Regions from separate parts of the Homo sapiens genome. Here regions 2, 3, 4, 5 and 6 are each linked to region 1. The links are contacts of gene promoters, found by promoter capture Hi-C in blood cells and fetal thymus (Javierre and others, 2016). All regions are on one chromosome and are shown on one strand. Each heading gives the region's core, a stretch centred on a gene start or on the middle of the fragment in contact. The rest is flanking DNA. Distances are from core to core; before and after follow the strand shown. Region 1 holds the start of COX7C (cytochrome c oxidase subunit 7C). Region 2 overlaps LOC105379087 (a long non-coding RNA gene). Region 3 holds the start of HOMER1 (homer scaffold protein 1). Region 4 holds the start of TENT2 (terminal nucleotidyltransferase 2). Region 5 overlaps CKMT2-AS1 (CKMT2 antisense RNA 1). Region 6 overlaps SSBP2 (single stranded DNA binding protein 2).

The links. Contacts are between HindIII fragments. The CHiCAGO score rates a contact against its expected background, and 5 or more counts as called.
Region 2: a fragment that was not itself captured here is called in contact with the fragment with the promoter of COX7C in region 1 in 1 of 17 cell types (non-activated CD4 T cells); the score reaches 5.7 in non-activated CD4 T cells.
Region 3: a contact is called between a fragment that was not itself captured here and the fragment with the promoter of COX7C in region 1, in 1 of 17 cell types (naive CD8 T cells). The highest score is 6.7, in naive CD8 T cells.
Region 4: a contact is called between the fragment with the promoter of TENT2 here and the fragment with the promoter of COX7C in region 1, in 1 of 17 cell types (naive CD8 T cells). The highest score is 6.7, in naive CD8 T cells.
Region 5: a fragment that was not itself captured here is called in contact with the fragment with the promoter of COX7C in region 1 in 2 of 17 cell types (non-activated CD4 T cells and monocytes); the score reaches 7.0 in non-activated CD4 T cells.
Region 6: a contact is called between a fragment that was not itself captured here and the fragment with the promoter of COX7C in region 1, in 1 of 17 cell types (monocytes). The highest score is 6.5, in monocytes.

What each region holds. Positions count from the first base shown.
Region 1 is chr5:86,616,156-86,620,567 of GRCh38, forward strand. It overlaps COX7C (cytochrome c oxidase subunit 7C), which reads left to right and starts at 1,786. Exons shown (of 3, transcript NM_001867.3): 1 at 1,786-1,975; 2 at 3,198-3,341. The coding sequence starts at 1,901. The coding sequence ends at 3,314. It overlaps SNORD138 (small nucleolar RNA, C/D box 138), which reads left to right and starts at 4,351; the gene lies at 4,351-4,412. RefSeq lists enhancers at 1,454-1,533, 1,545-2,210, 1,597-1,891, 1,824-1,913, 2,211-2,876. The HindIII fragment of the contact is 5,230 bases long and covers 1-3,585 here.
Region 2 is chr5:94,116,596-94,121,007 of GRCh38, forward strand. The region is part of intron 4 of LOC105379087 (a long non-coding RNA gene); the gene reads left to right. Among named protein-coding and RNA genes, the nearest start is that of ARB2A, 7.1 kb to the left of the region's middle. The HindIII fragment of the contact is 8,496 bases long and covers 1-4,412 here.
Region 3 is chr5:79,509,762-79,514,173 of GRCh38, forward strand. It overlaps HOMER1 (homer scaffold protein 1), which reads right to left and starts at 4,373. Exons shown (of 9, transcript NM_004272.5): 1 at 3,009-4,373. The coding sequence starts at 3,013. It also overlaps the pseudogene RPL29P15. RefSeq lists a silencer at 3,946-4,412. The HindIII fragment of the contact is 1,134 bases long and covers 1,276-2,409 here.
Region 4 is chr5:79,609,952-79,614,363 of GRCh38, forward strand. TENT2 (terminal nucleotidyltransferase 2) reads left to right here and starts at 2,490. Exons shown (of 15, transcript NM_001114394.3): 1 at 2,490-3,124. LOC124901014 (a long non-coding RNA gene) reads right to left here and starts at 2,386. Exons shown (of 2, transcript XR_007058840.1): 1 at 2,191-2,386; 2 at 1,520-2,069. RefSeq lists an enhancer at 2,095-3,294. The HindIII fragment of the contact is 9,139 bases long and covers 1-4,412 here.
Region 5 is chr5:81,294,510-81,298,921 of GRCh38, forward strand. All of the region lies in intron 1 of CKMT2-AS1 (CKMT2 antisense RNA 1), which reads right to left. Among named protein-coding and RNA genes, the nearest start is that of CKMT2-AS1, 4.9 kb to the right of the region's middle. The HindIII fragment of the contact is 1,501 bases long and covers 1,880-3,380 here.
Region 6 is chr5:81,504,847-81,509,258 of GRCh38, forward strand. The region is part of intron 5 of SSBP2 (single stranded DNA binding protein 2); the gene reads right to left. Among named protein-coding and RNA genes, the nearest start is that of ACOT12, 110 kb to the left of the region's middle. RefSeq lists a silencer at 2,241-2,390. The HindIII fragment of the contact is 1,639 bases long and covers 1,181-2,819 here.

The sequences.
Region 1 (4,412 bases), core at 536-3,035:
TAGTAGAGACGGGGTTTCACCGTGTTAGCCAGGATGGTCTCAATCTCCTGACCTCGTGATCCGCCTGCCTTGGCCTCCCAAAGTGCTGGGATTACAGGCGTGAGCCACCGCGCCCGGCCAAACATATTTTTTTTTTTTGTATTTAACTTACCACAAAGCCCATGAGAAGGCAGACAGTTCTGAAACCATATTCTGGAATCTCTGCCCTGCAGGTCCCTAAAGAGTTAACTCAAAGCCAGATACCCAATGGAGGCTCAATTAATGTGAATTAGAAGCAACAATGAACCAAATCCACAGATAACATTACTCACACTAGATTGAAAAGTGTAATCTAGAAATATTAAGTGTGAAAAAGTTTCTCAATTATAGTTAAATCAGAATTCTTTAATATGTAAAGGCAGTGAACGGAATGTTAAAAAAAAATGGAATGTCACATAACTTCTATAAATTAGGTGGTAGAGGACACCAGTTATGATGCATTTCATGAACCCCTACTCAAAAAGAAGCTACTTGTTGAAACAAAATATGAATTTAAGTGTTTTTTTTAAGTGTTTTTTTGGGGGGGAGGGGCATGGTTGTTCTCTTCCAAAAACTGAAAAAAAAAAAAAAAAAAAAGACGAAAAGAGCATATATGTTATGCCCTTTTCAAAGCAAACCTTAGGTCTTATTGGAATTGTTTCCTAATGCTATATAAATGAGACACGTGAGGCAATATACACTCCCCCACAGATGAATAACATAACATTTAGGTTACCAGGGCCTTTCACAATCTAACCTAACACCACTTTCCCAGGTTCATTTATCACTGGTTTCTTCTCAATACCTTCTGGTCAAAGACCACCAGAAGCACACATGTAATTGACAAACGGGGTTTATTATTCATTGCAGTAAGGGTTCTCTGTAAAATATTAGAAAATGCTTATTGGATTTGGGATTTTTTTCTCCTAATATTGGCTACCTTACCAAATCTTAGGAGGAAGAAAGGCTAGATCAAGGCTAAGATTGTAATTGGTAAAGAAGCAGAAGTCATCAAATTAAACCAGATAGGGTGATGTCCGGTCATTTTCGTGGCTTGGACAATGTTTTATCTGTGTTCAGATGTGATTACACAGTGATCATATTCTTTTCTTAATGAACACTGTCAGAGTGGTCTTGTTGGATGCTAATGCTTGCTGAAATTGTGTACGTTCATCAGGCGGACACCAGTTCCTAGTCCAGGCTAGCTCCAGGTGTCAGAGGCCACTTTTCCCTTCTACTCCTCACACATGCTGTACTCATACCAGACTTGAGTTTTCCCTGCCCTTTGTTCTTCCTTCTTTTTTATTCGATTCCCATTATCTTTAGTGATCATTCCCTTAGCATTTCAGTTTTCTCTCTGAAGTCCTTTGTGCTGCACGTTGTTTGATTACTTGTGTTTATGCTTTGTTTCTTCAGCTAGGATCATTAGCACATATCTCTCAGCATTGGCAAAAGTCCTCGAAATCATTGACACCTAGCATATACTTTATTTTTAAAAAAGAAAGAAAGAAGAGAAAAGGGATGGGTTTATTGTCCTTTTCAACAGACTAGAGTATACGGGGTGAAACTGCTTCACTTGATTCAATAAAATCGTTTCCGGTAACAGGCCCCAGGAATCCTAGACCTAAGCCTGGCGCGAAACTACATTTCCCACAATCCTTCGGGGGCTGATAAGGCTCCGCAATGGTCTGAACTACAATTCCCACAATCCAGGGCGATTTCCGCTTTGTCGCGTTTCCTCAAGGCTCCGCCCCATTTCCCATCTTTCTTTTCAGTCCTTGCGCACCGGGGAACAAGGTCGTGAAAAAAAAGGTCTTGGTGAGGTGCCGCCATTTCATCTGTCCTCATTCTCTGCGCCTTTCGCAGAGCTTCCAGCAGCGGTATGTTGGGCCAGAGCATCCGGAGGTTCACAACCTCTGTGGTCCGTAGGAGCCACTATGAGGAGGGCCCTGGGAAGGTTAGTGTGTAAGGGGCACGGCTTCGTTGGGGGAGGGGGCGCTTGGCTGTGACTCGCGCACCTGCAAGGCCGCCTCCGGGCTGTGGCGTGGGAGATGATAGCCAGAAACCAGGCTGAGACGCAGACTAGCATTCCACTTAGCCCAAGGACCAGTGAGGAAGCTGGGCATCCTAGCGCGTAGCCGCTAAAGGAATGGGCAGGTAGATCCGGAAGCCCTGCCTCCATCAGCCACCTGACGCCCCCTCCCCCGCCCCGCAGAAAGCCCTGAGATGGCTCCGGGAGGCCACGGCTGTAGGTGTGTTGGTTAAATCCGAGCTGGAGGTCATCGGACCCGAAATGAAGGTCATTGGAAAATCATGAGGAAATCAGGGCCTCTGGTTATGGAACAGGCTTTTTAAACTAGCTGCCTAAGTTAGAAGTACTAACCCTTCACCTCAGTTAAGGCTGGGTTTGGCCTCAGGTGTAAATAACTTAAACCACATAGCAGTAACAATCTCGGAGGGTCACACGAGGCCTAGTCATAAAGGCCAGAGAAGGTGCTTGGTAATGAAAAACAAACAAACAAAAAAAACTGTGGGCCAGGTGCGGTGGCGCACGCCTGTAATCGGGAGGCTAAGGCGTTCGGATCACCTGAGGTCAGGAGTTCCAGACCAGCCTGGCCAACATGGCGAAACCCTGTCTCTACTAAAAAGTACAAAAAAATTAGCCGGACGTGGTGGTGTGTGCCTCTAATCCCAGCTACTCGGGAGGCTGAGGCAGGAGAATCGCTTGAACCCGGGAGGTGGAGGTTGCAGTGAGCCGAGATCGGGCCACTGCACTCCAGCCTGGACAGAGCGGGACTCCGTCTCAAAAAAAAAAAAAAAGAAAAAAAAAGAGCTGTATTGCACTTAACATTGCCATGTATCTTCTAAGGTGACTACTTAGGACAGTAGTTTTTTCGATTTTCTAAAGTAAGAAACTTCTCACTATTTGACGTTTGAGTCCTCAAGACCATTCATTGCCTAGTGCTTAGTAAAGCCAGATTATTTCTTGCCATGTAGTGTTTTGTGATGAAGGTCATAGGATTTGAAAGATAAATGTTTAAAACGATGTTATGATTTATGGCATATGTTAACCTGATGATGTAAAATATAACTAGCATTTCCTGTATACTTGTATTTTGATTATTAAGCAGATGATTTGAGATTCAATTTCGATTACTTTTTCTCTTTTTTTCCAACAGAATTTGCCATTTTCAGTGGAAAACAAGTGGTCGTTACTAGCTAAGATGTGTTTGTACTTTGGATCTGCATTTGCTACACCCTTCCTTGTAGTAAGACACCAACTGCTTAAAACATAAGGATGTTTCAGTTCCTCCATTTAACAGGTAGTTAGTGGATTTCTAATCATGTTAAAGCAGGCCTTTTTATTAAGTAGCCTCTTCCCCATCACCCAGAACACACACACAAATACATTGTTGTGTAGGGCTGATTCCTGAGGTTATGTGTAGATGTGGCATTGGTGGAGACTAGTTGTAAACCTATATAAAAATATTTCAATAATGGCCAGTGTTTATTGAATACTACTGCTTATCAGGTACACTTTACATCGATATCTCATGTTCTCTAGCAAGCTTGTGAGGCGGATGATAGTAACCCCATCTGAGACACAGAGATGTTAAGTTGTTCAACATCTCATAACTAGTATAATGGTGGACCAGGACTCTTGCCCAGGCAGTTTCTTGTTGCAGAACTCACACTTTTAACCAGGTAAAACTGATAAACTGATTAATGTTACTCTATCTTGAACACTGTTACTAGAACAGTAGCTGAGAATGTGTCTTTTAAAACACTATAAACATTTCCATTTCTTTTAGAAAGTGGTCACTGTGCTCCTAGTTTTTAAATTGGCTTACAATACTTGTTTAAGTTGTGAAAAATCCCTGAAGATAAAACCCTTCTAGTGCTCCTTGATACATAAGTCCCAGATAATTATGCAATTGTAAATCTGTGCCTCACCAACTCAGCCATGTTGGGAAACTCAAACTTTTAAATATACTTTCCTCATTAAGGCAGTGGTTCTTAAATGAGGATGATTTTACAACACAATGGGGCATTTGGCAATGTGAGACATTTTTGATCGTTCCAACTTGGGGGCAAAATTACCAGTGGTGCTGAGGTTGAGAAGCCTTGTGTCAAGGGGATATGTTAATATATGCTCAAAGGAGTCGTTCATATTGGAAGGTTAGCAGATTTGCTGTGTGTGGATAAAATATTTAGCTTAATTGTCATCAGAGTTTCTCAGAGTAATACTATAGAACACTAGGATGATTGGAAAGAGTGTCATAGTTTAGAGGGGGAATAACTTATCCAAGCTACTAATGCGGAAAGGTTGCGGTGCATGTGATGAAGCAAATCAGTATGAATGAATTCATGATACTGTAAACGCTTTCTGATGT
Region 2 (4,412 bases), core at 952-3,451, 7.5 Mb after region 1:
CCTGCATCCCAGCCACTCCAGCCATAACTAAAAAGGATCAAGGTGCAGCATGGGCTTTTGCTTCAGAAGGTAGAAGCCCCCAAGCCTTGGCAGCTTCCACATGATTTTAAGCCTGTGGATGCACAGATATCAAGAACTGAGGTTTGGGAACCTCCACCTAGATTTCAGAGGATGAAAGGAAATGCCTGGATGCCCAGGCAGAAGTTTGCTACAGGGGTGGGGCCCTCTGGGAGAACCTCTGCTAGGGCAGTGTGGAAGGCAAGTATGGGGTCAGAGCCCCCACACAGAGTCCCTACTGGGGCACTGCAGAGGGGAGCTTTGAGAAGAGAGCCACTGTCTTCAGACTCCGGAATGGTAGATCCACTGACAGCTTGCACCGTGTGCCTGGAAAAGCTGCAAACACTCACCACCAGTCCATGAAAGCAGCCAGGAGGGAGACTGTACTCTGCAAAGCCACAGGGACTGAACTGCCCAAGACCATGGGAACCCACCTCTTGCATCATCATAGTCTGGATGTGAGACACGGAGTCAAAGGAGATCATTTTGGAGCTTTAAGATTTGACTGCTGGATTTTGGACTTGCATGGGCCCTGTAACCCCTTTGTTTTGGCCAATTTCTCCCATTAGGAATGGCTGTATTTACCCAATGTCTGTACCCCATTGTATCTAGAAAGAAACTAACTTACTTTTAGGTTTACAGGCTCATAAACTGAAGGCACTTGCCTTATCTTGGATGAGACTTTGGACTGTGGACTTTTGAGTTAATGCTAAAATTAGTGAAGACTTTGGGGGACCATTGGCTTGGTTTTGAAATAGGAGGACATGAGATTTGGGAGGGGGCCAGAGGCAGAATGACGTGGTTTGGCTGTGTCCACACCCACATCTCATCTTGAATTCCCATGTGTTATGGGAGGGACCCAGTGGGAGGTAACAGAATCATGAGGGCAGGTCTTTCCCTGCTGTCACCATGATAGTGAATAAGTCTCATGAGATCTGATGGTTCTAAAAAGGAGAGTTTCCCTGCACAAGTTCTCTTCTTTTTCTGCTGCCATGTGAGATGTGCCTTTCACCTTCCACCATGATTGTGAGGCCTCCCCAGCCATGTGGAACCATAAGTCCATTAAGCCTCTTACTTTTGTAAATTGCCCAGTCCTTGGTATGTCTTTATCAGCAGTGTGAAAATGGACTAATGCATTTGCCATGAAGTATCTTGCTTTTATTATTATTTTCATATCACTCTAGTATATCAACTTTTGAAACAAAAGACATTCTATTTATAGCATTCAAATTTTAGTAGTGGCATTTCCATTTGCAAATATAGTAATTCTGTATTGCTGAAAATGTCAAATCCTAGAAAATGAAGCATTCCTACATGTGATGTTAACATCATTCTCAAACAGTTGTTGGCTGAAGATTCAATTGATGAATCTGATTTTTCTGAAAGAGATCATTCTGATGATTCAGACTATTCTGATGTTAGTTCCGTTTAGAAATAACTCCAAGAACAGTTTTCATATTTTATTTTTCACATAGAAAATCAATCAGACTTGCTTCAGCCTCAAAGAGCATGTTTATGTAAAATTAAATGAGCACTGGCAGTGAGCTGCACTTATTTTCCTAAATGGGAATAGTTAGGGAAGCTCACGAGAGCTTCAACATTCAGAATTTTTGAGGGGCTCCATTGTGGAGGCATCACTGATCCATTGTCCATATGGAACTCAGTCTTCAGGTCAGATGATACATGACCCAAAGCCTCTAAGTCATGTGGTTGGTCTTTCTAGCTTGGGGAGCCTCTACCCTAAAACTGTTGGACATAGTCAGTCTTCCTAAACAAAAACACTTTTGCCAGCTATGATAGGTTATTTCCCAGAATCTGAGGCCACAGGCCAGAACTCTCTTTAGGAAAGGCCCAATTCTTTACTATACAATATTTCACATGGACTCCTATATAAGTTTTATTTGGATGAGAGGTGGTAGGCAAAGGAAGAGAAATGGTAATTAAGTCTCTGTCATACTAGTGAAATCATCAGGAATAGGTGATTAGTTTTAAGTAGTACAGAGACCAGTCTTCTTCAGTTTAGTCCTAGAGAACCTTTCCATTTTCTACTTAGTGTCTCTCTTTTAAATTTCTTCTCACCATTCCTTTATGAAAAGAGAGAATAAAATAGTGTGAGCTTTCTTGTGAGCTATGTAAAGATAAGACAACAAAGAGGAAATATGTAAAGGATAGGCTCTCTGACCCTGACCTTTTTCTGATCTCTTGAATAGTAATTGGATAGGTTGGAAACAGCTGTGGAAAGCTGTAGCTGCATCCCTAACAGAGATTTGTTTCTAAACTAAGCCTTTATGATAAAACTCCCTAATGATAAAAAAAAACCATGAAAATCCCCTAAACGGCCCACAAAGTACAGAATATATGAAGTTATGCTTATACTCTAGATCTTTACTTCTTATGCACACTCAAATGTGAAACTTCTGAAATAGTTTAAATGTTAGAGCTAAAGAAGAGTTTGTGTGCAGATATCTGAGAATTTAAACAATTCTGATAAATCCAGTGGGCAACTCGGTCTTTATTGTAACCATTCAGCAGCACTTAACACGATTTAACATCCTCTTTCTTAAAACTTGAAACACTTTCTGCATTTGACTTTTGTGAAATTATGGAGCTCTTTGATTTTCCTTTGCTGAATTTTTCCTGACCTCTAGATGTTAATGTGCCTGAGATGTGTTCCCTTCTTTATCTGCCTTTATTCCTGAGTTTATCCCATCCACTCCCTTCACTATTATATGGCATCACGATGCTGATGGCTTCCAAATATCCATATCCAGCCCCGATTTCTTTGATTTTCATATTCATATATCTAACTTCTTATTCAACATATCTATTAAAATATTCAACATACATTTCAAACTTCTTATTTTCTACCTCCAAAAGCTACTCCTATTGCATACCTCTTCATCTCACTAAATGACACATTGATTCTTACAATTGTTCAGGTTGTCCTTTGATTCTTTATCTCTCGTATTTCACACACAATTCCTCAGGAAAATCTGTTGCCTGTCTTCAAAAGGTAACCTAAATCTATCCAATTCCCAGCATCTCTACTACAACTATTCTAGTCCACAATAGATGCTGTAATTGATTGTTCTGCATGCTTCTGTTTTTGCCTCCCTACAATCTAGTCTCCAATTGGCAGCTGTGGATATCTTCTAAAAATTCATACCAGAACTTGTTGCTTCCCTGATCAAAATCTTTAATAAGTTTCCTCACTCAAATAGAATACAATCCAAAACCATTTCTATAAGCCTATAAAGTCCTGCATGATCTGGCCCTTCACTACCTCATACCTCCACTGAGTCAGCAGATGGTAAAAGACTGTTTTGAAGGGATGGAGAAAGCACTTGGCCAATAACCTTGGAGTTTCATAAATGGCAGTCTCAAAGTCAAGTACCTGGCTCTTTCCTAAAAATATTTAAAGACGAGAGAATTACTGAGGGTACCTTTGATGAGAGAGTAAGGAGATAAGAACTGTCATGTCTTCCCAACAGCTAGTGGACATGATCATACATGGATGGGTGTATTCGTTTTCTAGGCCTACCATAACAAAGTATTTCAGACTGGGTGGCTTACACAACATAAATTCATTTTTTCATAGTTCTGAAGACTAGAAGTCCAAGATCAAGGTCATGGCAGGGCTGGTTCCTTCTGAGGACTGTGAGAGAGAATCTGTTCCGTGCTTTCCTCCTAGCTTCTGGTAGTTTGCTGGCTATCTTTGGTGTTCTTTGGATTGTAGATGCGTCACCCAGATTTCTGCCTTTATCTTCACTTGGCATTTTCCCTGTGTGCTTGTCTCTGCATCAAAAGTTTTCCCTTTTATAGGAACACAAGTCATATTGGATTCAGTCTAACCTTAATGACGTTATTTTAACTTGATTACCTCTGTGATGACATTAGTTCCAAATAAGGACACATTCGGAGGTAGTTGAGGTTAGGAAAGACTTCACCATATCTTTTGTGGAAGATAAAATTCAACCCACAACACTGAAGTATAATTATTTTTGAAAAAGGAGAGAATCAAATCTAGTAGAAAGAAAGAAGAAGCAAACCAGCCAGCAGAATGAGGTTGTGTGAAGTAAGCCACCAGAAGAGGAGATCCATGGGAATTGTGAGATGCTGACTGGGACATTCACCCCATGTACTAGAGAATGTCAGTGTTAGAGTTCCTGAATTTTGGATGAATCTCCAAAATTATACTAAAGTGCCTAATGACAGCACCGGTATTTGGGCATTTGCTACAGAGAGGACAACAATTCCAATTTATAATAGCCTTTTTCTCCCACCTCTGAGCCGACCCCAAAGGACCTCAAAGTAATAGGATTAGTGTAGGACAAGGGGAAGTAAAAGGTAGAGGA
Region 3 (4,412 bases), core at 593-3,092, 7.1 Mb before region 1:
TCTGCCCAATCACTGATTTTATTAAAAATAATTCCTTTGCTTAGACTGCCCCTAGACTTGCAATAATTATCTACAATTAAGACGAAGATAAATCCTTATTATAACCTAACATTAGTTTAAAAAAAGAAGGTTGTAATATGTGAAACACTTTACCCACAGTATTAAATTTTAGATATCTATTACAGTAAGGTAATTATGGATTGCCAAGGTAAAGCTTTAAAAGCCATTTAAAGCCCTGTTTCCTTTTGCTTGAAATAGGTCCAGGCAGCTATGCTAATTCCACAAACATTTATTAGGCATAAATACGCATAAAGTGTGGAAACGTCAGCAAATGCCTTTGCTGTATGCTCTTCTACTTCCATCTACCCTTCCTCTCTCTACTCAAGTCACTATCAATGAGAAAGGGTCATAGCCCCAAATACAGGCTTTCCAAAAAAAAAAAAATAGCACCACAAAATGCTCGCTCCTTTTTCTCCTCAGTCCATATATAGAACTTTATTAACTAAAGGGCAGATACATTCATTTATAAACAAATTAATTATGCTAAGTGTCTAAATGCATGTTATGTGTGGTGCTAACTTTCCCACTTTAAACAACAGCCCCCTTAGTATTAAATTCATCCTGTCTCTTCAGATTCTAGGCGCTTCAGGAGCCGCGCCTTAAGGTGCAGACATGGCCAAGTCCAAGAACCACACCACACACAACCAGTCCCAAAAATGGCACAGAAATGGTATCAAGAAACCCGAAGCACAAAGATACGAATCTCTTAAGGGGGTGGACCCCAAGTTCCTGAGGAACATGCAGTTTGCCAAGAAACACAACAAGAAGGGCCTAAAGAAGATGCAGGCTAACAGTGCCAAGGCCATGAGTGCACATGCCAAGGCTATCAAGGCCCTCCTAAAGCCCAAGGAGGTTAAGCCCAAGATCCCAAAGGGTGTCAGCCGCAAGCTCAACTTGCCTACACTGTCCACCCCAAGCTTGGGAAGCATGCTCGTGCCCGCATTGCCAAGGGGCTCAGGGTGTGCTGGCCAAAGGCCAAGGACAAGGATCAAACCAAGGCCCAGGCTGCAGCTCCAGCTTCAGTTCCAGCTCAGGCTCCCAAAGGTGCCCAGGCCCCTACAGAGGCTTCAGAGTAGATATCTCTATCTGCCAACGTGAGGACAGGACTGGTGCGACCCCCCGCCAGGCTGCCATCTGCATGGGGCTGTGGGGCTGGGGTCCTCCTGTGCTATTTGTACAAAGAAACCTCAGGCAGGGAAAAAAAAATTCATCCTAAGCTTCCCTTGGTAAAATGACAGGCATTCATGCAGCTTAAAGGTTCTGGAAAACTGATTTTCTTCCATGATGCTACTACTCCACAGTCTAGACAAAATGCAGCCATCAACATGAAAAACTGCTGCTTGATTTTTTTTCCTCCAACATGTTTTAAACAGAGCTGCAGATGCTCAAGGGAAGCCATATTTCTAAGGTTTTGAACAGTAGTATTTTTCAGTATTTTTCTCATTTAAAATTGGTGCAATTCATCCAAAACATTTTTCAAATGCCATTATTTTTCAGCGTTAAGCGCTTAAACTGCTTAGAGTGAAAAAGGTCTCCATCAGAAAGATCGACTTGCAGAAACCAACTAGTGATCATTAAAATGAGGAGGAGAATAAAAAGAAAGCAATTCGTTTTTTACAGTTTGGAGAAATCTTTAAGTCATCTCTAAATCGTTCATTTTACAGGTAAGAAATAGAGTCCACAGAGGTCAAGTAATTTGCCTCAGATCACTAAGCTACTAATAGCAGCGCTAGAAATAGAATGAGGTATTTTAATTACTCTTAGCGGTACCCCCAAATCATGCAAGTTATATATATTCTCATCACTTGTCATTCAAGTTTTTAAAACCATTATAACTTTGTCATTAATTTCTGAGGAACGTCTCCTACAACATGCTCTAAATTTTCAAAGTTATGCATGTTAAACTTCAAATTCTAACTCCAAAAGGAAGGTACTATTCAAGAACTTTCCTCAGAAAGTTTCAAGCGTGTGTACACACCTAAACCATCACGATGAATTGCAGAGTCCATTCTTTAAAACATGCCCCTCAACTACACTTCAGATGTGTTTGTTCAACCACACACACACAAAAAGAGAAAATTCTGGAAGTTCTTCTGCCAAAAAGCAGTGACAACCTGTCAATGAAATCAGATTGCTCCATTAATATATTATGGGTTTCCAGCTTAAATTAGGAAGTGTCACTAGCATTTCATCAACCCACAGTGTGAAGAGTTAATAAAAGACTGGAAAATGCACTCTCAGTTGGCTCTGGGTCCGAAGGAAGGTGTAGATCTGATACTGTTAACTCAAACTGAAGGGCTGAGCTTAAAAGCGAAAAACAAAAGGAGTGAACAAGTTCCTTAAACAAAAAGCTTTTTCCTACGAAATGCACCCGTACCGTGGTGACCGCATCAGTAAGACTGAATTTCAGATTTTCGTTTTAACGCCCCAGTAAATCAATTCTATACATTTTAGCTTTGAATATTCAAGGACAAGACAGAGGGCACGGTGAGGGCAACAATTTACTCTGGATCACTTTCAAGGACTGTTGTCTAACCACTCATTAAAATCGTTCCTTTGTGCAACTGATTATCTAAAAGTACTGAGAGAATGCAGTACTTCTCTTTGAAAGATAACCGTCAGCAAAAGCTAAAATAATGTGATTTTGATTACAAACTGATGCAGCAGTCTGACCAGTAAAGTGTAGAATGCGTTGTCTTTGTAAACATTACTCACAAATCCATATTCAAGTTACAAACGATATATGTGTTTTTAAATTATGACCTCTGGTACCGCTCTACAAAAATGCAAAAATAACCTAAAAGGTTAGCATGCCTATTTCTTTAAAGTATGACCAGCTTAGCAAGGTGGCAAGTTTGTTTGAAAACACAAAACACAATCACCACCACCGCTCAATAATACACATACATAAACAGATTCGAAGCTGTGTTAAGCACAAAAATCCTTACCCCATTTTGCCCAATGAAAACTTGCTCTGAAGTTTCAGCTCTTATGCTACGGAATAACTTCCAAAGGAATTTCTCCGTCTGCTATTTCGCAGTTGCTTTTCCACCCCCACCCCCAGATCCTTGTCCGGAGGTATTTCAAGGATGCTGCCAATTCAATTAGTTCTCTTAGGTAAAATGATTTCTCTCTTGTAAATACCAAAACGTTCAAACAGAGGCGGCATTTGCTTATTCGAGTTAAAATGCTTTGCGGAGGAGACAGCGATCAACTCTATTCCACAAAATGAGTCTACAAGTAGGGAAATGCAGAATCCGGCTTCACCGAGTCCTATAAAAAATGAGTTCGCTGGTCATTTCACTCATGTCCTCCTCGACACTCAGGGAGAGCCAGGTAACTCGGCCTTTTCGGAGCTAAGGCTGCGGGTTCAAATTTCTCCACCACACCAGGTCTCCGGGGGTGGAGCGAGCAACCAAACGCGACGTGCACGTGAATAAAAATCCCAAAAGCAGTAATGCCACGGCTTCCCTGCGCTCACATTAGGAAAAAAACTACACAGGAAAATCTCCTCGAAGTGCAAACCCGGCAGCTCGCAACCTGCACGGCACTCCACATTGGAATCTGTCTTTTTAAATGTTTCTCCTCCTAAGACTCGGAGCAGAGAAGAGGTGGGGAGGACGAAGAGAAGGCTAGGCAGGATCGATTCATTCTCCCGAAGAGAATAAACGGAGCCATTTCCAGGCTGGCAGCAGGCTGGGGGCGCAGCGCACGCCGGAGAGCTGGAGGAGGGGACCCGATCCCACCTCCCTCAGCCCCTTCCCGCCCCCCGCCGCCGAGCACAATGGAGCCCGGCTGGTGCCCGGCCCTTCATTCGCGGCTGCCCCCTCTTCCCTCCTCTCTTCAGAGCACAGCGGGTCTGAGGCTCCCGTCGGCGGAGAATGAATGAATCACAGAGCCAAGCCCCACGCTTCCACTGGCACCCTGCCCCCAGCTCCAGGGCGGGCGAAAGGGGCCGAAGGGTCGACGGGCGCCTGCCCGAGCCAAGGCGGGAGGCTAAGCCCGCGTTGGGGCCAGGAGAGCTGGGCTCGAAGCCGAAGCGCAGCCGCCGCTCCAGCGCCCCCACCCCTACTCCTCGTCTCTCACGCTCCGCGCCGCCGCCACGCGCCGCCTCACATTCCCCGGGCCCCGCCGCCGCCTCTTCACACTTCCATCAGCGCCCGCCTCCGGCTACCGCCGGGCAGAGCAGCGCCAGCCCCGGCGGCCTGAAGCCTGCCGCTGCCTCCGCCTCCGCCGGCCGGCCGGCTGGCAGAGAAGAGGGTGCTGCTTTCCCGGTCAGCGCCGCCGGCGTGAAGCTAGCGCGGCGGCAGAGTGGGCTGCGGGGGGCGGGAAGGGGGCGGAGAGAACGGGGA
Region 4 (4,412 bases), core at 1,240-3,739, 7.0 Mb before region 1:
TTGTTAATATGGTAAATTACATTGCTTGATTTACCAATGCTAATTCAACCTTGCATTCCTAGGATAAGCCCCTGTTTGGTTATAATGTATTATCTTTTTTATATATTTTTATGTATTTATATATTTATATATCTTTTTTATATAATCTACTTTTTACTGCCTTGTCTCATGTAAACCTGTGTAATTTCCCATTGGGTCCACCTTAGGAAACAGTCTTTAAAGTTTTCTCCGTAAAGCAAGTACCAGTATACTCTTTTATGGTCAATACAATGCTAATTCAACCTTGCATTCCTAGGATAAGCACCTGTTTGGATATAATGTATTATCTTTTTTATATACTGTGAAATAAAAGTGACTAGAATTGTGCATATTATGTTTATGAGAGATATTGGTCCATAGTTTGCTTGTTTAATATCTAGAGTTTGGGTATTAGTGTAATGCTGGCCCCACAGAATGAGCTGGGAAGTATTCCCTCCTCTTCAATTTTTGGAGGACTTTATCTAGAATTGGAATTATGTTTTCCTTATATATACCATGTTAACACCCTACAAAAGAAAGCCTAAGTAGCTGTAATACTATCAGACAAAATATACTTCAGAGCAAAGAACATTATCAGCAAAGAGGAGGGTCATTTGTAAAGTGGATAATTTCATAATAATGAAACTTTCATAAAGGATAAATTCATACAAATAAGAGAATAACTATGTTTATGCAACTAATAGCTGAGCTGCAAAGTACATGAAGCAGAAATTGATAGAACTACAATTGAAAAAAACCAGTAATAGTCAGAAATTTCAATACTCTCAATAATTAGTAGAATAAGTAGACAGTAAATCAGAAAGGATATAGATTTGAACACTAATATCAACCAACTTGACATGATTGACATTTATAGAACACTCCATGCAACAACTGCAAAAAACACATTCATTTCAAATGCACAGTGAGTATTTACCAAGACAGACTATATACTCTGGGCCACAGAACAAGTGTCAATAAGTTTAAAATTATTAATAGTGTACGAAGTACCTTCTCTGATCACAATGGGATTAAATCAGAAATCAGTAACAGGCAGCTACCTGGAAAACTCCTCCACATTTGCAGACCAACACTTACAAAAAACCCATGGTCAAAAAAAGAAAGCAATAGGGAAATTACAAAGTATTTTGAAATGAAGGAAAATGAAAATACAATATATCAAAATATGTGGAATGTAGCTAAAACAGTATAGAGGGACACTTATCACACCAAATGCCTGTACAAACAAGAGACATCTAAAATTAATGGTCATCAGTTTCTGAGTTAAGAAACTAGAGAAACAAAACAAGAAATTTAAAAATTAAAAAATAGCAGAGTAAAGGAAACAATAAACATAAGAGCAGAAATCAATAAAATAGAAAACAGAAAACCAGTAGAGAAAATCCAAGAAAGCAAAAACGGGCTTTGAGATTTGAGATCCGTAAACCGAGAAGCCCCTCACCAGATCGATCAGAAAAAAAGATGACACACAAATTACCAATTTCAGAACCTGAGGGGTCAGATTTTATAGACATTAAGTGGACAATAAAGGAATACAGCTAACAGATTTGCATTATTAAACAATTTAGACATTTCTACAAATTATTAAAGCTCACTCAAGAGGCGATATCAATAAATATTTGTTGAATTAGTGAATACCAGCTATTACTATGGGCAAGGCGCTAAGTCCAGGCTTTAGAGAGAAAGAAAGCATTTTTTTTTTTTTTTTTTTTTGAGACAAAGTCTTGCTCTGTCGCCCAGGCTGGAGTGCTGTGGCACGATCTCGGCTCACTGCAACCTCCGCCTCCCGGGTTCAAGCGATTCGCCAGCCTCAGCCTCTTGAGTAGCGGGGTTACAGGCGCACGCCACCAAGCTCGGCTAATTTTTGTATTTTTAGTAAAGATGGGGTTTCACCATGTTGGCCAGGCTGGTCTCGAACTCCTGACCTCGTGATCCGCCCGCCTCAGCCTCCCAAAGTGCTAGGATTACAGGGGTGAGCCACCGCGTCCGGCCAAAGAAAGCATTTTCCTTCCAAAGAAGCTCTCAGGTTACTGGAGGGGCAAAAGAACAGATAAAGTTTAATGTTGCTCCGGGGGAGAAGATTAGGGGAACACTGGTTAAAGAAAGGCTTCTCTGGGGACAAGTCACTCGGCCAACACACGAAGGACCCACAGAAAACGTCTGTTACAGCTAGAACGGCTGCACGTGAGTTCAGGCAAGGGGCCCAGAAGTGGCCCTCCGGCGACTGCCTGCTCCACCCCTCTTAGTGCAGTCCTAACCCTTTCCCAACTTGTGCTGGCAGCAGTTAAGAAACTCCTTTCAAATCCGGCTGTCTTGCGCCTGCGCATTCAAGCAAAGCGCTCATAGGCGGGGTGGGGGGGGTGGGGGGGGTTGGGGGGTGGGGGGGGTTGGGGGGTGGGAGGGAGGCGGCCACCGGAAGTGTGACCTTTCGCTCCCCGCTGCCTATTCTCATCCGGGGTCACGTCGGTCTTCCGGGTGTCTTTGACAGGGTTTTCTACGCCGCTTTTTCGGCGACTTTTTGCTCTTCCGCTTTTTGCCACCGCCCCCAACCTTCTATATCCTTGCAGCCCCTACCTTTTCTTGTGTTGCTCCTCCCCTGGCAGCCGTGAGGGGGGTTAGATCTCAGCCGGAGCCGGAGCTGGGCCTAGCTGTCCCACGGGCCACCACTACCTCCTTTGGTTCGGGAGAAAGCTACGACCAAGTACGCCCAGCTCGGGCCTTAGAACTTCTGAACGGGCAGTGCGGGTAGGCCCTGCTTAGCCCTTCCCGGAGGACACCTGTGAGTTTAGGGGGTTTCGGAGAGGAACGCAGCAGTGTAGGCCCAGGTCGGCGGCGGGGCACGGGAAACTTTTCCGAAACGGTAGCGTTTTGTTTTGCGTGGGAGGTTCCAGCAGTATCTCTTGGTTATTCCAAATTTATGGGCGGCATCTGGGCTGCTGTACATTTTGAAGAATCTTAGGACCGCTTACTTTGCTTACTCGTTTTCTATTCCTCGCGTACTGCCTCGTCCACCACTCCAGGACCAAAAGAGGAAGATAGTCTTGGGACCCTTGCATGGTGTTTCAAAGGGTGGTGAAGAACTAAGGTACGTAGCTGGATTAATTAAAAAATTTAAAAGGCATTTATCTTTTAAGCCTTAATTAAATGGCATGAAATTGCTTCAGCTTTTCACTTTATAGGAAAATGCACAGGTTAAGACTGTTGTGTGCGTTTCTTTTCTTGTTCAGCCTTTGTAGAAAAGCTCTTCGTCTCTCAAGGTGAGAACACGAAAGGCTTATATGTCTCAAAACTTATGGATTCTCTAAATTACTTGTCTTATCTCTTTCAACTCTTTGTTTAAAGTAGCAGATATTTTTCATTAGGGTGAACAGAGAAGAAACAAAGGGAAACTGTAAAACACAAGCTAAATAACACATGTGCAGTGTATGATTTTGTGAAGAAAGAGATTGTAACTGATTACTAAATCTGTGTTTTTATATTACAGGTAACATAGTAACTTTTGTAAATATCTTCATATTGTATGGTTCAGTACCACCAGGCTTCTAACACGTACTGATTAACAGCCATAAGGCTATTAATTTATACTGATTAATAGCCAGTAATAGTGACGTTACTTTGTTGGTGTGAATAGCCCTAATTATGTCTGTTCTGGAAATGTCCTGTAACAGGTTCCATGTGAAATAGGCCGTTTATGAGTTGTTTAAGAAATGCCCATTTGGAGCCATGTGACTAGATTATTTTTTTGAACACTTGGGTGTAATTTAATTCTTAACCAAAAGGAATATCCTGTTCAAAACCTGGAAGTAGTTTTCACAGTGGGTTGGCAGGATTTAGGAACTGGATTTTTCGTATTGTGGAGAAAAGTGGGTTTGAGATATCAAAGGTATTTGGACAAAATGGACAGTATCTTGGTTTAGCCAGTAAATTTCTGGTTTTCATTCTAGGTATATTCTGCTTTCTAAAGAATCCTGATGAAGGAATTATATATAACCTTGAGTGTTCTCTAATTTGTTGGAGGAGAGGTCAAGTTGAGGACAGAAATTCCAGGTTGCAAATTCCAGGACCAAATACTTTATAACTAGAAATTACTAGGAATTAATCTTTTTTTTTTTTTTTTTTTTTTTTTTTGCAAGACGGAATCTTGATCTTGTCACCCAGGCTACAGTGCAATGGCACTATCTTGGCTCACTGCAGCCTCTGCCTCCTGGGTTCAAGCGATCTCCTGCCTCAGCCTGCCGAGTAGCTGGGATTACAGGCACGTGCCACTATGCTTGGCTAATTTTTGTATTTTTAGTAGAGGCAGGGTTTCACCATGTTGGCCAGGCTGGTCTCCAACTCCTGACCTCAGGTGATCCATCCGCCTCGGCCTCCCA
Region 5 (4,412 bases), core at 1,380-3,879, 5.3 Mb before region 1:
CCAGGAGGGGGAGGTTGCAGTGAGCCAAGATCGTGCCACTGCACTCCAGCCTGGCGACCGAGTGAGACTCCGTCTCAAAAAAAAGACCAAAAAAAAAAAAGTCAAAAACAACAGATGCTAGTGAGGCTGCAGAGAAAAGGGAATGTTAATACACTGTTGGTGTGAATGTAAATTAGACCAGCCACTGTGGAAAGCAATTTGGAGATTTCTCAAAGAACTGAGAACTACCACTTGATCCAGCAGTCCTGGGTCTCAAAGGAATGTAAATCGTTCTGTTATAAAGACACATGCACTCATATGTTCACTGCAGCACTATTCACAATAGCAAAGGCACAGAATCAACCTAGGTGCCCATGAATGGTGGACTGGATAAAGTAAATATGTACATATACACCATGGAATACTATGCAGCCATAAAAAGAAATCATGTCCTTTGCAGCAACATGGATGAAGCTAGAGGCCATTATGTTAAGTGACTTAACACAGGAACAGAAAACCAAATACCATATGTTCTTGCTTATAAGTAGGAGCTGAACACTGGGTATTCATGGACATAAAGATGGCAACAACAGTCACTGGGGACTGCTAGAGGGAGGAGAACAAGGGTTGAAAAACTATTAGGTATTATGTTCAGTACTTGGGTGATGGGATCAATCATAACCCAAGCCTCAGCATCATGCAATATACCCATGTAACAAACATGCACATTCTTAAGAATGCTGTGTTTCACAAATTGCACATTCTAAATTCAAATTGTTTGCAGATTTTGTGATAAGGGAAAGTATACATAGTTAACACCTTGATTCTTACATTTAAGAGTAACTTAAGTAGTAAATAAAGGAGAAAGATGTAAAACTGAGCTTCAAGAGAATCAAGTAAATACTACTCATAAAATGGTTAAACACAAGTTTTTAAAAAATTTTTTTTATATTGTGGTAAACATACGTAACAAAATTTACTACTAGTCATTTTAAGTGTACAGTTCTGTGGCATTAAGCATATCCACAATGCTGCATAACCATCACTACCATTCTAAATTTCAGTTTTAAAAACCAACATCCAATACAGGAAAAGTGGCAACACATGTAGATTGAATACTGTACCTTAGGATTAGGTCTTAAAAGTCCTTCTTAGTATTTAAAAGAAGAATTTTTAAAAATTTTATATATATATAATATATATAAAATAGATATATCATATATGATATCTCTCTATATCATTAGATACGTCTATATATGTCTATATATCATATATAATAGATATATCTATTATATATCTATCATATGATATATATCATATATCATATGATAGATATATCTATTACATATTATAGATATATCTATTATATATCTATATCTATTATATATTATATTTAATAGATATATCTACATATAATATATATTATATATTATATAATAGATATATCTACATATATTATATATTATATATAATAGATATATCTACATATTATATATAATAGATATATCTACATATAATATATATTATATATAATAGATATATCTACATATTATATATTATACATTATATATAATAGATATATATCTATTATATATTAGATATATATTATATATCTAATATATATTTAATTATGTATAGTATATATAAGATAATAGATATATCTATAATATATAGTATATATCTTATATATACTATATATAATAGATTAATATATCTATATTATTATATATAATATTGGTTATATATAATAGATATATAATTATATGTATCTATTATATATATATATCTCTATCTGGTTTGCTGTACTTCTCCAAGACATACTGTTTAGAGATCTAAAAGCCACATACACTCAGTGTAGCTAATCTTCCTCTCTGAAAACTTGCTGGTGACTTCCATATAAAGCTTCCCTGGGCAAAACTACACAAGTGCCTTCCTTCATTTGCTCCTTGAGGAATTTAAAATCTGTTTTTTTTTTTTTGAGACAAAGTTTCATTCTTGTCACCCAGGCTAGAGTGCAATGGAGCGATCTCAGCTCACTGCAACCTCTGCCTCCGAGATTCAAGCGATTCTCCTGCCTCAGCCTCCTGAGTAGCTGGGATTACAGGTGCCTGCCTCCACGCTTGGCTTTTTTTTTTTTTTTTTTTTTTGTATTTTTACTAGAGACGAGGTTTCATCATGTTGTCCAGGCTGGTCTCGAACTCCTGACCTCAGGTGATCCGCCTGCCTCGTCCTCCCAAAGTGCTGGGATTAAAGAAGTGAGCCACCGCGCCTGGCCCTGTTTGTCTTCTTTACCAGATTCCTCTGGGGGTATGAACTGTGTCCAATTCATCTTCATAGAGCTCACCATTAGACTCTCACATCTTCCGGAATATATGTAAATGTGACTTTCTACATCTTCTTGGTCCATAAATGTTTCTTAAATATTTGTGGGACCTCTTTTCCTATGATCATTTATTTGCTATGCCATAGTTTTGGGCAGGTTATGTTTTTCCTCGTATGTGGTCCTCTTAAATTAGTTCATCTGAAATCATTAATTACTGTACTGTTTTTACCCAGACTTACTGGTAGATTATTTTATATAGTAGTTACTAAATCAGTACGAAATATTTTTGCCACTTGGTTATGTTCACTTTGACCTTTTATGAAGTACTAGCATAAATTTTTATCTCTTTTTTGTGTATATGTCAGCGTGTGTCAGTCTTATCTGCAAAAGCATTTCAGCTTATTGGAGAGGATTTTAGATCGAGTACATGTATTTATTTTTTACTGACTCCTCCTCCTCACCTCCCTGATCCCTCTCTCCAGTTGTCTGCAACACATTCTACTGTGAAGTTTTTCTTAAAACTTCCCAGGAAGAAATATTTTATCTGTAATCTCTATATCACCATAATTCCCTCACTAATTATAACATCAGCTTATTAGTGGTTTAGCAATCTGTCTTACTCTCACAGGCTCTTGGCTGCTTAAGGGCAGGGACCTCTCTGTCATTTGTATATATTTAGCACTTAAGGTACTGGCAAATAGTAGACATCAAAAAGTGCTTTTTCCTCACCTATCCTATTTTACAGAATTCCATTTGTAACTGCAAGACCTCTCATTGTTCCTTGGAATGGACAGTCTAAGGCCCGTATCTGGTATGATTTCCTCAGACATAAGGAGGAGGAAGTACGCATTTCAGAGAATAAAGGAGAGCTTGCAAATCTTGCCACTTGTTTGTAATTTAGGTTTAAGTATTCATTTGAAGCACTTAACATCCTAACCACCGAAACACATGATTAGGAACTCAAATTTGAGAAATACAACAAGATGGTAAGATGAGTCAGAAGGATACATCATTTTTGTGATTAGTGTTCCAACACTATTCTTTATCACGTTTAAGCAAAGAAGATGAAAGAGATTCAAGCTTTTTCAGAGGGTAACACAAACTTTATATTATTCCTATTCCTTATTGCCTAGGAACCTCAAGTAACTTCCACTAATAGGTTTCTCTTGCTCCACACTTCCAATAGATTTTCTTTCACTTCTGAAATAAAGCAGTATTGCTTGTAATTTTGTTACTGAGAAAACCAACAATGCAAATGAAAGCATGTTAGTTAACAAAATTCAGTCACTAGCATTGTGTTCTATGGCAATCACTTAACTTCTCTGAAACTTAATTTATTGATCTGTAAAACAAGAAGATAGGGTTTTAAGAGGTATGTATTTCTATGAGTCTATAATTAGAAATTCTCATGTGCTGTGTCAAAACTCCCATGGATTAAAAATAACTCTTTAATAATGATTCTAAATGTAATACACACCCATTAAAGAATATCTGTAAAATTATGTATAAAGAAAAAAACCCTCACAATCCTATTACTCATGGGCCTTATTGTAAGGATCCTAAAGCAGCTAAAAATATCACTGACAGGTTTTTAAGATGTCAGAATGTCACTGGTCTGGATCTTATTTTTATTTCCAACAGCAGGGTCATTAATTTTTTTCCTCTCTCTTCTGCTGTATTTTTCTGCATACTATAAAAAAGTTCAATAACTGCCCGGAGAATGCATTAGGTACAGTTTTCCACACAATCCTCTTCTCCAGATCTATTTTATGGGATCTCCTGTATGATCTAAAACACTATCCACAGTTGTTCATTGCTTAAGCTCTAATGGATAAAGTTTGAACACTATAATTTCACATTTAAAAACACTTTAATTTGGCAAAATCTCATCCCAGCCTTCCTTTCCAGATTCACTGTTCTCCGTTCCAAATTGCTCTATAGGTAAACTGGCTGCCTGGAGGCTGTTCACTCTAATGTGTGAGTCAGTTAGAGGGATGGTCCACCCAGGCTGGGCCTTGGACACTTCTAGTCCTCATCACCTATTGGTCACTTCATCTAGGGTGGCCAAGCGCCTAATATTCAGAGAGAATCTGGGCAAGAATGAAGATTT
Region 6 (4,412 bases), core at 750-3,249, 5.1 Mb before region 1:
TGACAATCTTAGCTAGTGATCCTCAAATTTTAGTTTGTAAGACTTATCTGTTAAAAACAAAACAAACAACAAAACCATAACTAAAACTAAAGGATTTGTAGCCCCATACTCCCTACCCCCAAGAATTCTAGTCCCCTAAGAGTTGGGTGGCTCCCAGGACTCTCGTATTAGTATTCCACAGAACCCCCTTAGAGAAACGCTGGTCCTTACCCTTTGGATCTCTCATAGGCTACCTTTTATCACATTCATGTAGAACAGAAGTAGGCAAATTATGGCTCACAGGCCAAATGCTGCCCATCACCTGTTTTTTTTTGTAAGTGAAGTTTTACTGAAACACAGCCATGCTCTTTAATTTACATAATGTCTATGGTTGCTTTTATGCTACAACCCAGTTGAGTGGCTGTGAGAGACCGTGTGACCTGCAAAGCCTAAAATATTTTCTATCTGGCCTTTCACAGGAAAATTTTGTTGACCCCTGATATAGAACATAAGACAAATTGTTCCTGAACGCTACCTTGTAATAAGTTATTCTTTTAAAAAGCTAAAGTCTTTCTAATATATGCTTAAGACAAATCTATTCCCCCTAAATATGTAATTAATAGTATATTTAAATGCCTGTTCCTTATCTTTAATTCCCCAAAGAATGTGGAGCATTTTTGTTTCTGTAACCAACACTAAAATAAAAACTAAATTAAATTGTGTTATAAATAGCCTTTGCATATTTACAATTTCCTCTCTATATAAATTTTTTTTATCAAGAAATGTCAATAAAAACTACAGCACTCGGAAGAATTTTCAATAATATTTTCAAAAGAAAAACTATAATTTCAAATGATCTGAACAATAGCTAAGCTCTTATCTCAGATGTGATTTTAAACTATGATGCTTTATTGTTTCATACTAAATGTGTTGGACATCTTTGGCTTGCAGGAGTAGCATGAAAAGTGAAAGGAAAACCAAATACTGGTCTAGAATGACCAGCCTAAATTTCTCCTAAATACGCAGTTTGGCTAACAAATAAACAACAAAAAATTGGATTTCTAATAGGAAAGTGTTTCATTTGATTCTAACTGGAAAACCCAAGTAAAGACTCTGAATACCTGACACTCCCTTCTTTGCTCTCTGTCCATCCAGTTACTGCTGTAGGGTCTTTAGTTGCCTGAATTGCAATTTTTAAAAAAGCTTACTTAGTTATTCAAGCTGGGCAGTTTTAATTTGTTCTAATAGTTGAGGCCAGAAAAACTATTACCACAACTGCAGGACAGCATTATCAAAGCCAGCAGCTGTTAGGCACCTTTGTTTTTTTAGTTGCTTTTATCTTTATAACAGGGAAAGATCTGTTCTATTTTCAACATTTAGAATCTGTGTTCTTTAAAGATACAAAATTATATTTTTAAGAAAATTAAACTTAATTTTTATTTCTTGAGGTTTGATAAATAAGCCAACTTCCTCACCTCCACTATCTAAATCCTAGGTGTATTTAATTCTGAGAAATACTATTTCTAACGTCTGAATTTTTTTAAACTATATATATTAATGCTGTTAGATATTCTAGTCTAATAAATTAATTCTACTTCAGAGTTTCAGTACCCTACTCATTCAAACTAAGAAGGATATAACAAGTAATCTTTTGGTTCATTTATCTAAGATCTAAGATGGTATTTATAACTTCCTAAGAGGGAAAGGGAGTTTCTCCTGGCTTAGAGTACTTTCTGAGACTAATTTCTGAAACAACCATAGTCAAGAAAGATAAGAGGAAAGGCAAACCACTGGAAGTGAAGGTAATGCCAAGACTAATAACAGAAGGAAATTGAGAGGGCATGTAGATTATTTAACTATATGTATATAAACGGCTGGATTTAGGAAGTCTGAATAGGAATAGCAGAGTAGATGAATATAGATACTAAGGTATCTTCAAAATGCAGAATTTATTTCCAGAAATAAACATCTATCTCCCAAAAACATTTAACCAGGACTTATAAAACCATATATTATTGGTTTTCTTTTTTAGTTTTGAGTGTCATATTAAATAATTATTTTTCTCATTTTTGATTTTTTCTTTTAAAATATCAAAAATATTATACACTTTGAGCTTTTTGTCCTTGTTGCTTTATGAATGTTGTTTATATGGAGCCTTCCTTAGTCAATAACACCACCATGGAGAAAAGAGGAAATTTCTTACTATTTTTTTTTCTTATTGCGTTATTACTATGTCAAAGCATTAGGTCAGCTTGCTACAGTGCAGCCTTGCTAAAAATAGAAAGTCTAGAAAAAGGCCCTGAACAAGTGGAGCCATCTGCAAACTACCACTAGATGGCAAGGCAGCTTTACCACTACCAATCTTAGGCCTGCAAACCAAATGTGACTTAAAACCTGCTGTCACATATTTTCTACTATATCAGAGTTTCATTCTACTTAGATTTTAAAGTATGAATGATCACCTTGGTCTGAAACTAAATTACTTGGTATCCTTTTTCATTAACATGTATTTATAATCTTATCCACGTCAAAGTCTTAAATTTACAACCCAACATCAACATATTATCAGTTTTCAACAGTTTCATCTAATAAAACTAAAGATCTAGTGACTAAAATATAGTAAATATATCAAGATAAAAATCAAAATACATGATAAAAGAAAACAAAGGTCTATATAGAGTTCAAAATTAGATATTAACAGGTATATCCCAGATTAGTTACAGAATCAAAGATATTATCCACATTAGCACCTATTAAAAGATTACGTTGTGTTTTTATATAAAGGATATGAATGTATTTGGTTATTAGAGTGATAAGGAAGTTATAGTTTCCTTCTTAAAAGCTTTCTTGTGGTAAAGAACATAAAGTAGGAAAAAGCATTTTTACCCTTCTCGATATTTTTTTGGTTAAAATAAGAAACGTCCATTGCATTAATGTTCTATAAGTTATAGAAATTCACAAGAGAAGCTTCCTTGTTACTTACTCATCCATAAAATTACAGAACTTTACAAGGTAACAGAGTTAATAATCTAATTTTTTAAACAAAAGAATTAGTACTTTTGTGTTATTTAGTGCATTTTATTAGTAGTAAATTATTTTGATCATTATACATAAGTGAGAAGAAAATCCACTTGGTCTAAGGAATGCTGCTGCCTATTTATATTGCAGGAATCAAAGTCCTTTGCCTGTCCTTTTGTATGAATGCCACAAGAATGAATAAATAGCATATCGATGCTTTTAATACATAACTCAAATTTCTTAGCATACAATGAAATCTTTGAATAAGACAGAGATATAAAAGAGTAAAACTCAGTTCTGGGTACCTACAATGGATGTGTATTCACACCATACCAAGATACTGTACTTTATTCTACAAAAACTGCCAAACTTTTAGTTAGATCAATGGCCATGTCTACTCTCTTCCCTCTGGATCCCAAGCAGCAAGACTTCCCAATTTAAGAAAGCTGCTCTAAAGTCATTCATCAGTTCCATAGTGTCACTCTGAGGACTTATAGGGTTTCTTATACAAATTACTCATTTGAAAACAGACTCCAAGTAAATAACTACATGTCATACTTTAAATGGCTTTATTTTATTAAATTTATACCTCCTTTTGCATGTCCGACTAGTCTTACTGATTTTACTTAATTGGTTTCCTGCTCAGCAACAGAGGCTCTCTCATTTCAATAAAAACATCAAAGTTTAAGTATGAACAATGTCACAAATAGAAAGACACTAAAGACTGCCTTCCAGAATGGATTTATTAAGTGTACCAAGTTATATCATAATTATTTATTTTAGACTTTAATTCATTGCTATTTTTCAAATGTAGTTGTTATGTATTCACAAGTTCAGTTTGTGATCATTCCACTTGGTAATGAATTTAAGTCTATACTTATCATGGAAGAGGGAGCTTGTTCTGTAACATAAACAGGAAAAAAAGGAGTATGTTTGTCTATTTAGGAGAAATGTTTCAATGTATTTTTTAGAGTATGATCACAAAGTAAGTAGAGCTCAGAAATACTTAGGCGGGGACTTCATTTGCTAATTATAAATTATTCTTCTTTACTTTTACTTATTCACTAATTCTAATAGGCTAAATTCTTTTTCGGTCTAGTCCATTCAAGCTATCTCAAAATAAGCTTTGCATTTACTAAGAATATAAGTTTAAAATATTATCATTATCTAAAAGTCAAAGGCAATAGGAGGTAACCACCCTTCAGAATTTAGTAGTTGCAACCAGGAGAGGCTGGAAAAACTATTTAGCACCCTTTTGACTAAGTCTCTTTTGAACCAGGAATTCCCTAATATCCAAGTCTGGCTTTTTGGAGAATCTGAGTCTTTATCCTAGCCAGCCTTCTGGGCCTTGTTACTTTAAGGAGCCACATCAGCTCTTTTCCAGTTGCTTCCATTCCTCCTTGCCTTGTACTGAA